Regions from separate parts of the Homo sapiens genome. Here all the other regions are linked to region 1. The links are contacts of gene promoters, found by promoter capture Hi-C in human tissues and cell types (Jung and others, 2019). All regions are on one chromosome and are shown on one strand. Each heading gives the region's core, a stretch centred on a gene start or on the middle of the fragment in contact. The rest is flanking DNA. Distances are from core to core; before and after follow the strand shown.

Region 1 (3,981 bases), core at 1,324-3,823:
GATAGAAAAGGTGGATTTCTTTGGAAACACATAAAAATCTTTCATCATCTATCAAGTTGGATGTCAGAACAGGGCGAACTTTTTATAGAATTCCAATCTAAGACATTTAAACTGACTTAGCAGATAATACAGTGCTAGTTTGCCAACGTTAGTTTGCCAACTGTCAGTGTAAGAAAGCCGAGATCAGCAAACTTTTCTGTAGAGCCAGATTCTAAATAATTTAGGCTTTGCCGCCACATGGTCTCTGTCACAACTACTCAACTCTATCATTGTAGCCACAAAAGCATCCACAGACAATACGCAAATGAATGAATGTGGCTATATTCCAGTAAAACTGTATTTATGGACACTGAAATATGAATTTTACATAACCACGTGTCTCAAGATTTTAAAGTTTTTTTCAACCATTTAAAAATGTACAAACCTAATCTTAGTTTGTGGGCTACACAAAATCATACAGTAGACAATACATATCATACATATCCAGGCAAGAGGATAAATCTGCCGGTGAAGACATTAGGCCCAAGTGACTAGAACATGAGCCGCAAATTGAAATAATTCTAATCACAGCAAATTTCACTGATTTCTTTCTAGGATGATTCCGGATAGCATCTTCTCCACAGCTCATTTTGATACTTGATCTTTTATTGCCTGAGTTAGTTGTTTTCGTGTTTTACAAGTTGTCTCTTTATTAAGACGACAAACTTGACAACTACTGATTATTCTGTAACTGCTAAAAAGGCTAACATTGGCTTTGGACTCTTAGAGGGTACTCAAATAATCTGCTGGATAGAATGAACGAGACGTTAAGAAGAGTAACAAAGAGGTTGCCAGACTCTAAGAAGCTGCAGAGGTGGGTTTGGACAATGAGCAACAATCCCAAGCCCCCAGATAGGATCTGAGTGCCCACTGAGAATCCTGCTTAGGGCCAGGCACAGAATACCCTAACTCACTTGGATGGCAGGAGAGGGCATGAGGTTACCAAGACCAGGTGCTGAGCATCTGTACTTTCAGAGCCCCAAATGAAAACTGGTTCAGAAGAAAAGAAGCTTTTTCACACTGTTTCAATAAAACTAACAAGAATGTCTAAAGATACGTTCAGGTCTGGTAAGGACAGTCTCAACCCAAACAGTATTGGGAAACGGGGGCATCCAAATATCTAGAATCAAATTAAAACTCTTTTAGGAAATGGGAATTCCCTTTCGCACAGGGTGGACCAAGGCCTACTCCCCCCAAATTTCCATCCCCAAATTACTAGAGCTGCAATCGGCAACCTGAGGTGCACCTGAACAGCCCTGGGCTGCCTGCTATAGCAGCTCAGCAGACACCATGGCAGCCTTCGATCCATCCAGGGAATGTTGCTGCTGCCACAGGGTTAGGAGACTGCACGCCAGGAGTGATGGGCAGGCCAAGATAGGCCTAACTAGGTGAGTGCACACTCCTGCAGGGAAAACAGCAGCAAGAGAAAAGACGTCAAGTCAGGGACTGGCTTGGCAGAGAACAGAAAAAGGGAGATCACCCAGGGCAGGGACTGGGCAACATTTTTCTTCCCACCCATCCTCCTATCAACGAAAAAGCTTAGGATGGTTGCCTTTTGTGCAGGAAACGCATTTCTGAAACTCTGAAATCATTCTTAATTCACGAGAATGTCAAAAGCAGGATTCACATGTCGGAGTCTGTACACAAACTGAAACTTTATTTTTGTTTTAATGTGGCACAGTTTTAAATGAGCAGGAAATGCCACGGCTATGTGTTTTGAGGAAGAACCCATCTGCACACTAAGGGGCAACGCTCCCGACCCAAAGAGGGAGGGAGGCCGGGCAGGCTGCAATGGGGGAGGGCTGCCATGGGGCCAGGGCGGAGGAAGCAGGTAAGGCTTCTGGCCTGCCAGAGGGCTGGGGGAGCCTGGCTGAGCGGGAACTTCACTGATGGCCGGGGGTTCCAGGCTGAGGGCCCAGGGGCCCATTTATTAGGGGACCTCGGCCCCCGGCCGGCTCAGGAGGATCCAGTTCAGCTGAACGGGGCCCTCTACCCAAACAGGTCCGGCAGAGCTGGGGAGCCGACCGGCCGAAGGGCATCCTAGCGTGGCCGGACTCACAGGAATGCGGTCCAGCCCAGGAGAGTCCTTCCCCACCAGAGCTACGTGAGCGTGGCGGGAGCAAAGCCCGGCCGGCGGGGCAGCGGGAAGCGCGGCCCGGCCGGCCGAGGGGGTCTGGCGGGGACCCCCGCGCTGGTCAAGTGGCCGGGTCCGCTGAAGGCTCCGGGAGCCGGGGCACGGCGCGAGGGGAGGGCGCGGCCCGCGCGGCACTCACTCTCGGTGACCCGGCTGAGGCGCAGGACGTGCTCGGGCCGGATGGTGTCCAGCGCCAGCAGCTCCTGCTCCGTGACCGCTGCCCCGACGCCGTCGTCGGCCGCGTGGTGGGGCGCCTGCCGCCGCGCCTTCAGGCGGTTCAGGACGCCGCCGCCCGCCTTCTTCTTCTCCTCCTTGCCAGCCACCAGCCCCCCGGGCCCAGCCGCCGACGCCGCGGCCGCAGCCTTCGGGTTAGACCCGCTCATCGCTCCGCCGCCAAGATGGCCGCCGCCTCCACAGCGCGGTAACTATGGAGAGCGGGGGCGGGGCCCGGGGCCCGGCGGGGAAGGGGCGGGGAGGGGGCGGGGCGGGGGCGGGGGCGGGCGCCCGGGGGGCTGTGGAATTCCCTTTCGCACAGGGTGGACCAAGGCCCACTCTCCCCAAACTTCCATCCCCAAATAACTAGAGCTGCCATCAGCAACCTGAGGTGCACATGAGCAGCCCTGGGCTGACTCCTATAGCAATTCAGCGGACGACACCATGGCAGCCTTCGATCCATTCAGGGAATGCTGCTGCTGCCACAGGGTTAGGAGACCGCAGGCCAGGAGTGATGGGCAGGCCAAGATAGGCCTAACTGGGTGACTGCACACTCCTGCGGGGCCCGGGGGGCGGTGCTTCGGCTACTGCCCCAACTTTGGTCCTGCCAGGTGGAGGGCCTAGGGGTGGCTGGAGCTTCAGCAACCCCACTCCCCATCAGACCCCCAAGATCCTCCACGATGTTTAAATACATATCTTACGGTCAAATGAATTTACGTCATATAAACTTTCCTCCTCCTCATCCTCCTCCTGGTCTGAAAGAGCACACAGAATCTTCCGTGCACCATCTCGGCATTCTCAATCCAAGAGTTCTGTCACCAGTCCCAACAGCACAATGGCAACTAATTCCCAGTAATCACACCAAGAAGAAGAATGGCCAGTGTTTACTGCGCACTTGCTATATGGCAGGACACTTGCTATAGGGCAGGCTCCTCACCTCACAACAACCCTGTGAGGTATTACTGTCTCCATTTTACAGATCAGGAAGCTCAAGTTCAGAGAAGTCAGGTAACATGTCCAAAGTCCCTCAAGCAGTAAGAGGAGGGAACAGGGATTTTAATCCAGGTCCATCTGACCCAAGGCCTGTTCTTCAACACTAAGCTATTAGTGGACAATGCATCTTGAGAAAATGTTTATTAATATATTTAGCATAGAAGGTAAGTTAAAGCAGTGTTTGTTTTGCAAAGGCAGTTTCAAGACAAACTTTCCAATGAGATTGCCATCCGTAAGCCCTACTGTGCCAGGCCCTGGGCTAGACATTGGGCTAGGCTACAGGAGATGTAAGAGTGAGGGCAGGGATTGGGTCTGCCTCACCCCTGAATTCCCAGCAGTTCAGCTAATGCCTGACACGTGGTAGGTGCTCAGTAATGATTGAATGAGAGCCTGAACAGTATCCCACTATGGAAGAGCTCCCACTTTTGTTAGAGAAGACTGTAAAGTACACAATTCATTATGTGACCCTTCCTTTTCACAAGGTAGGTTAGTATGAACTGGAAGACAAACTAGATTCACTGACTGCACTAAGAGATGCAGCAAAGGTGCTAGGAGAACACACAGGAGTGGTTTATTCTGACCTGGCTGTAAAAGCTTGAGGG
Region 2 (3,879 bases), core at 588-3,087, 210 kb after region 1:
TGACTTGGCTAACAGTTTGTGGATAACATAGTTCAAAGGTATGTGAAAGGGCTTCAGATACGCTGCTTCCTGACCCAGCACAGTAAGGATCATTTACGTGCCTTCACTTACAAGATCTTGCCCTGTCACTAAAAAGCTTCTAGATAGAGCTAGCTATATACAACTCTCTCAAAGAACAGCAGCTAAGAGCATTTGATAAATGCTTAGAAAAACTTAGCTTACATTTTCTTTTCAGCCAGCTGGAGCCTATTGGCTTTTGAAATTAACAGGAAGGAACAGGCACTGGAAGGAGCTTCATAAACCATCAACCCAGTCTTATCTCCATAGCAACATGGTTTTCTCACATCTGAATAAAAAAACAAAAAAGCTGCCAACTTGACAGTAAATATGGGACAGATCATATTCAACTAAAACTCCCAGTGTCTAGCTATCAGTCTTGAATCAGCTTTTGGGTCTGTAGCTAGAGACAGATCATCCGTTCTGAGTAGGGCTTAACTGGACAAACTAAAGCTTTGGAGGCCAAATTCCCTGTGGGCTTCAAATAGAAATATAGCCAGGTCACTAAAGAGGGAAAAGGGATAGAAAAAATATGAGTTAGGCCAGGTTCGGTGGCTCACACCTGTAATCCCAGCACTTTGGGAGGCCGAGGTGGGCAGATCACGAGGTCAGGAGATCGAGACCATCCTGGCTAACATGGTGAAACCGTCTCTACTAAAAGTACAAAAAAAATTAGCCTTGCGTGGTGGTGGGTGCCTGTAGTCCCAGCTACTCGGGAGGCTGAGGAAGGAGAATGGTGTGAACCTGGGAGGCGGAGCTTTCAGTGAGCCGAGATCGCGCCACTGTACTCCAGCCTGGGCGACAGTGAGACTCCGTCTCAAAAAAAAAAAAAAAAGAAAAAATATGAATTAAACCGGGTGTGGTGGCTCGTACCTGTAATCCCAACACCTTGGGAGGATTGCTTGAGCCCAGGAATTCAAGACCAGCCTGGGCAACACAGGGAGACTCCAGCTCTACAAAAAATTCAAAAGTTAGCTAGGCATGGTGGCATGTACTTATGGTCCCAGTTACTTTGGAGGCTGAGGTGGCAGGATCACTTGGGCCCAGGAGGTTGAAGTTGCAGTGGGCTATGATCACACCACTGCACTCCAGCCTGGGCAATAGGAGTCTCAAAAAAAATGAAAGTTAGAAAAAAGGAACATTTTCGGTCTGTTTATATAAATACAAACATAAAATTACCCCAGTTGCAGTCTCCTGTTTATTCCACAGTACCTCATCCTTTTTTGCAGACAGCAGGGAAAAAACTGGCACAATAGTCAAAATTGCCAGGTTTGGTGGCTCACGCCTGTAATCCCAGCACTTTGGGAGGCAGAAGTGGGCAGATTACCTGAGGTCAGGAGTTCGAGACTAGCCTGACCAATATGGTGAAACCCCATCTCTACTAAGAATACAAAATTAGCCGGGCATGGTGGCACATGCCTGTAATCCCAGCTACTTGGGAAGCTGAGGCAGGAGACTTGCTTGAACCCAGGAGGCAGAGGTTGCAGTGAGCTGAGATCACGCCATTGCACTCCAGCTTGGGCAACAAGAGCGAAACTCTGTCTTAAAAAAGTCAAAATCTTGCACCTCTACCCTGAAACCCTTCCAATCCTAAAGTAGCACAACTTTGCTAGGATTCTTAAAACCACACATTCTGAAGAAAAATAAACTTCCAAATATGTTACTGACCTAATTCTACTCTTACAATGGGAGTTATCACCCATCAATTCCAATCTATCGCCCTCTTCTGTGTAGCAGTCACCTAGCTGCTTAGAAATCCCAATGGCATCTTAGAGATCCATGGGAAAACATAGGCTAACTACAAGTCAGGACCCTTCTTGCAGTTTCCCAAGATGGGTGTGGGTTGTTCCAGCCTGTCTTATTTCCTTTCCACCTACAAGTCTGCCATATTTGCTTTTCTACGACTGCAGTCCTCTTAAAATTGATAGCAGGAAACCTCTGATAGCTACTTGTCCCCAGCTTTAATTGGGTCTTTTCAGGAAAAGGTATCAATTCACACTTGTTCCTGACCACAGCAAAGCACAGCACAGCAGGCTGATAAAGTCTTTGCAGGAATTTACATTATTAGAAGAGCATGAAAACTGCTGCTCAGAAACATTTACTTTCCCCTAAGGCCACCTTCTTTCTAGGCAGGGGAGGGGGCTAGACAAGGGTCCTGGAATCCATTTCATTATCCCAACTTTGTTTTGAGCTTATTTCCATTTTATAGCCATAGAAAGCTTCAAGTACTACTACATACACATCCATCACCACAACCTGAGGCCAAAGGCCCAGAACATTCTATAGCAATGTCTTAACAAATATCCTTAAACATTGATTTTTTTCAGATTAGGACTAAAGATTTAATTTAAATGTTTCTTTATCATGCACTGCATTTCTCAACATGCACAACAGTTGCAGGATGGGTGAGAGAATGTGACTAAAGAGTACTGAAATACCCCACAGAAACTTAACTTCTGTAAGGATGGACTCATCCCCACCAACCTGGGCATCTGATCAAGTGACCGTCTTCAACGCTGTTATTTGAACAAATTGTAATTCACACACATACACATCTGCATCAGATTTATTTTTTAAAGGAATGGATTTTGAGAGAAAACAACGTGGGCAGAAGTATGGAATAGAAAATAAATACAAATGTAGGCTATTCTGCTAATTGTTTTATAACCACGACAAACTAGTACAGAGAATGCCCTGTACAAAACACAACAAAGGTTCAAACATCGAGATGTTCCCTTAGCAAGGCTGAAAATTTCAGTCTCTGGTATTTGGAATTTAGGCTGCAGTCCTTGTTTTTGGATGGATCACTGGGTGTGTGGCACAGTCCATGCTTTTAACCAGATTTGAACAGAAGAATGGCCACTTGGCCCAGGTAGAAGTAGATGAAGTGTTTGGTTTCATGTGTCACATAACTACCGAAGTTCCTCCCCACGATGCAATGCCAGGTGGGATTGTACTTCTTGTCAAATTCCTGGAAAAGACAAAAGAAAAGAACTAGGATTTTAATTACCAGAGGTCAGTGTTTGCCTCTTGGATAAGCCAGAGCCTGTAGGGGCAGAAAGGAGGAACGTCAGCATCTGCAAATTCTTAGAATGAAAGAATGTTCCCCAGCTCCAAGCCGCCTACATAGTACATTAATACAAACATACTTGCAGTCTGAGCGAAGATGGGAATGGAGGCTGAGGAGGTCAAAGGACGAAAGGTCAGCCCTAAAGACAGGGTGTTTTGTTATTATGGTAATTACACCTTCATACCTTCTATAATATTCATTGACAGACGGTGACATCAACAGGTGTAGTTTATCATGTTCTGTGTAGAGAACTAAACTACCCTACTGTATTTGCCATGCCCCCAATTCCAAGAAAACGGCAAAAAATTAGCCCATCCCATTCCTCATCACAAAGATCTTAACTGCACCCCTGCAACACAAGACTTTTCCAATAGGACAAAACTTCAAACAGCATTGTATACCAAATGATTGCGGATCAAAATTAAATTTACAGGAACACAATACTGAAGCACTCCACTGTTGCTGTAAAAACTGCTGGAAACAGAATCTGTCAACTGGCCAAATTTTATCCTTAATTATTATCCAAACAGCCGTCCTCTTCACATCTATCCGGATGATGCTAATCTACTACCCTGTCCACTAGGTTAGCAAGTTGTAGGAACAACTCTTCACCATTTCTCCCACCCTAAGAGGTACTGGGGAGTAGAATGCCTGTGGGGGGCATTGGGTGGCAACGGTTATCTTTCTCTGCAAAATTCTTACAAGTGTTTGTGGAGCGTCACACAAGATTTAGCTACTCTAACTGCACGCAG
Region 3 (4,028 bases), core at 694-3,193, 240 kb after region 1:
CCTGACCAACATGGAGAAATCCCATCTCTACTAAAAAATACAGAATTAGCCAGGTGTGGTGGTGCATGCCTGTAATCCCAGCTACTCAGGAGGCTGAGGCAGGAAAATCGCTTGAACCTGGGAGGCGGAGGTTGCAGTGAGCCGAGATCGCACCACTGCACTCCAGCCTGGGTGACAAGAGCGAAACTCTGTCTCAAAAAACAAACAAAAAAACCCCCCAAACATCCGCTGTCCTTCTAGCACCTTCAAGGAGTGTGTCACAACAAGACAGACTGGCAGCCCATGAGAAGGATGGAATTACAAAAGAAACTGGTCCCCAGCTGCCTAGCAAGGAATGTCTGTCAATGTGACATTCACAGAAGCCCTGCACATGTGCTGGCTGAGGGGGAGAGCCAGCCTCAGGCAGACAGAAGGAAGTTCAGCCACTGGGCATGTGTTAGCATGGGGGATGTGTAGCCTAGAAGCTTCCTGGCTTTCAGTTATTATTATTTTTTTTTAACTTAAAAAAAAAAAACTCCAGATAATTCCCATACTTGTTTTTTACCTTTAAGGAATGTATTTGCCTTGGAGGTGCCATTACTGAATTATATTGACGCAGTTCATTAAAAATCTGCTTAGTATAAAACTGACTTGGGTCTAAAAAAATTAGGATTCTACTAAATAAATGCATCCTTTTTTGTTGCATTGAAAAACATTCTTAGTACTGTTATTAATCTTTTCACACCCCCCTACCCTTTGCTTGTGTTTCTGATTTACTCTGCTGTGAAGAAAGTTTTCAAGGTTTGTTACAGTGGAAAATGTTTTGGAAAAAGTTCTGGGTTGAGGGTAAGGAATTTAGAGCTTAGGAAATGAAATTTGGTGAACCTGATGAGCTCATTTGCCATTTTGTACCTCAGTTCCACTTTTCTGGAGCTAGAATAACTGTTCTTTATATACTAGTTAATAAAATCAACAGGTGTTTACTAAGCACTTACTATGTGCCAGTACCATAGGGCTGTAAAGGGAAGTGATTGGTCTCAGTGTTTCTTGGCCTTTTTTGGGGGAATGGGGGAGTACAGCTTATAGACCTTTGAGAATGATAAATTCCTACGCTGTCCTGTATGGTAGCCACTAGCCACATTTGGCTATTACAATTAAAGTTAATTATTGTTAAATATAATTTAAGAAGTTGGTTTCTCAGTTGCAGTAGCCACATTTTAAGTGCTCAATAGCTACATGTAACCAATGGCTACCACATAGAACTCAAATATAGAATGTTTTCATCATCCTAGAAAGTTCTGTGGGACAGTGCTACATGGAGATTCTCCCCAGAATAAAAACACTTTTCTGCCCACATACAATATTTTGCATACAACTGTTACAACTTTGCAGGATCAGGGTCAGGAGGTGGAGGTTGAGGGGGCAGGGAGGCAGGAGTTCACTGATCCCAGAAGCCCATTAATCCAAGAAAAGGAAGCCCTGATATAAAAAGCTGTTTGAAGACTCCATCACAGAATTTAACAAGTTAGTAAAAATAAAGCAACCGAGCTGCTACAAATACAGTATGTTCACTTGAAGTAACTTCATATAAAATCAAGCCCTTGTGTTCCCACCTGTTTGGGCATATTCAAAGAAAACACCAGTTCATTATCTAAAAGTTATTGAAAAATAATGTTAAAGATTTTTTGCAGTCTCTGAAAAAAACACCAGAGGGGAATTATATTCACAATATACTGCAAATCTTGAATTATCTTTCCCATTTTTCTCTTCTCATCCTCCCACACTTGACACTTGCTTTCCTAAAGCTCACCCCCAATTCCAAACTCTCTTCCAAACCTCCTAGTTCTGCTGCTGTTTCTCTTCTTCCTCCCCTGCATGGCTCAGTTCTTTATTATGTAGCTTTCCAGAATATGTTTTATTTTACTCCATCACACAAGTACAGTGGTAGAGAATGACAGAGAAAGCTCCCAGGGTGCTGTGACCAGGAACACGTTTCCCAGTGACTCATTCCATAGCTCTCCTGCCAGGCGGGACCAGTTCCTCATCTTCTCAGATGGTCTACTCCCCCATCACTTCCTCTCTGCCCACTGATACCTAGGGCCAAGGTCTGGGAGGAGCTCATGACTGAGCCTGACAGAGAGGAAAATATTTTGCTGGGATGCCAGAGGGGACTGATGTCACAGAGAAAAGGAGAAAACCAGATGGGCAGGTTTGCAGCATGTTTTATGCCTGGCGTTGTTGGTTTTTTGTTTGTTTTAAATTTTTATTTCAATAGGTTTTTGGGGAACAGGTGGTGTTTGGTTATATGGATAAGTTCTTTAAGTTATTTAGTGGTGATTTCTGAGATTTTCATGCACTCATCACCCGAGCTGTTGTTGGTTTTGGGATTTTTTTTTTTTTTTATGTTGTTTTTTTCAGTTGGGCACTGCCCTACACTCTGGTGGAGAATAAATGGCTTGCTGTGGGAACTGCATTAATTCTTAATAGTCTGCCAACATCAAAGGCTTCTTTTCAGTTTGGTGAAAAGAAGGACAAGCCCATTTCTGTAACAGGATCTCACTCTGTCGCCCAGGCTGGAGTGCAGCGGTGCAATATTGGCTCACTGCAACCTCTGCCTCCTGGGCTTAAGTGATTCTCCCCCCTCAGCCTCCCAAGTAGCTGGGACTATGGGTGTGTGCCACCATGCCCAGCTAATTTTTGTATTTTTTGTAGAGACGGGGTTTTAACATGTTGCCCAGGCTGGTGGTGCCTCAGCTCCTTCTCTCTTCTTCCCTGCTTGAACTCCTTGCCCCAGTCACACCAGTAGGGATTTTCCCTGGTCTGCTACTCTCTCTCCTATTTGGGTGATTTCTCATGGTGTCCTTTTTTATGTTTTGAGACAGAGTCTCACTCTGTTGCCCAGGCTGGAGTGCAGTGGTGCAATCATGGCTAACTACAGCTTCAACCTCCCAGGCTCAAGCAGTCCTCCCACCTCAGCCTCTTAAGTAGCTGGGACTGTCAGGTGCCGTGGCTAATGCCTGTAATCCCAGCACTTTGGGAGGCCGAGATGGGCGGATCACTTGAGCTCAAGAGTTCGAGATCAAGTAGCTGAGACCACAGGTGCACGTTACCATGCCTAGATAATTTTTTAATTTTTTTTTTTTTTTTTTTTTGAGACAGAGTCTCGGTGTTGACCAGGCTGGAGTTCAGTGGCGCAATCTCGGCTCACTGCAACCTCTGCCTCCCGGGTTCAAGCAATTCTCCTGCCTCAGCCTCCAAAGTAGCTGGGATTACAGGTGTGCGCCACCACCTCCGACTAATTTTTGTGTTTTTAGTAAAGATGAGGTTTTGCCATGTTGACCAGGCTGGTCTCGAACTCCTGACTTCAAGTGATCCACCCACCTTGACCTCCCCAAAGTGCTGGGATTACAGGCATGAGCCACTGGGCCTGGCAATTTTTAAGTTTTTTGTAGAGATAGGGGTCTCACTACATTGCCTAGCCTGGTCTCAAACTCCTGGACTCAAGCCATCCTCCTGCCTCAGCCTCCCAAAGTGCTGGGATTACTGCCACTGCACTCAGCAGTCATGCCCTCATTTTTGTCTGAAATGCCCTTCCCTCTTCCCCCTGGTTAACTCCTACTGGTTCTTCAAGACTCTAAACATCTCCTCCCAGAAGCCTTCCTTAGAATCTCTAAGACTGTGGTAGGTGACCCTCCGATGTAGTCTCAAGCAGCTTATCCTTATCACAACTGTACTCTACATGACCGAATAGCAACCTATATACACAACTCAAGGACAGAGCTGTATTATTGCATGCCCTGGGCCTCATACAGGACCTAAATCATAAATAATGTTGAATATCTAGATGAACAAAAAGTTTAAAAGGTGTCCCTGCCTAGAGTCTCTGGCCTTAGCAGAGAATGGAACCTATGAACCCTTTGAACATGAAGTCATAATTGTGGTCTCATTTGTGTTCTAACTGCAAAGGTCAGTACAGGAATAAAGGGGGTTTCATGGATGATCATAAATGCCTCCTAAGGATTTAGCTGTGCTCTATCTAATCCAAGAAG

What was found. Contacts are between HindIII fragments. The study calls those that stand out against the background at their distance.
Region 2: a fragment that was not itself captured here is called in contact with the fragment with the promoter of UNC119B in region 1 in 2 of the 25 tissues and cell types used here (dorsolateral prefrontal cortex and thymus).
Region 3: a contact is called between a fragment that was not itself captured here and the fragment with the promoter of UNC119B in region 1, in 1 of the 25 tissues and cell types used here (dorsolateral prefrontal cortex).

What each region holds. Positions count from the first base shown.
Region 1 is chr12:120,709,050-120,713,030 of GRCh38, reverse strand. UNC119B (unc-119 lipid binding chaperone B) reads right to left here and starts at 2,573. Exons shown (of 5, transcript NM_001080533.3): 1 at 2,313-2,573. The coding sequence starts at 2,556. LOC124903036 (a long non-coding RNA gene) reads left to right here and starts at 2,525. Exons shown (of 2, transcript XR_007063491.1): 1 at 2,525-2,594; 2 at 2,757-3,098. RefSeq lists silencers at 2,264-2,533, 2,624-2,683 and an enhancer at 1,814-2,656. The HindIII fragment of the contact is 6,851 bases long and covers 1,314-3,981 here.
Region 2 is chr12:120,497,222-120,501,100 of GRCh38, reverse strand. DYNLL1 (dynein light chain LC8-type 1) reads right to left here. Exons shown (of 3, transcript NM_003746.3): 3 at 2,608-3,028. The coding sequence ends at 2,891. Among named protein-coding and RNA genes, the nearest start is that of DYNLL1, 3.0 kb to the right of the region's middle. The HindIII fragment of the contact is 3,028 bases long and covers 324-3,351 here.
Region 3 is chr12:120,472,796-120,476,823 of GRCh38, reverse strand. It overlaps a transcript of DYNLL1 not described here. Among named protein-coding and RNA genes, the nearest start is that of SRSF9, 5.1 kb to the right of the region's middle. The HindIII fragment of the contact is 6,330 bases long and covers 1-4,028 here.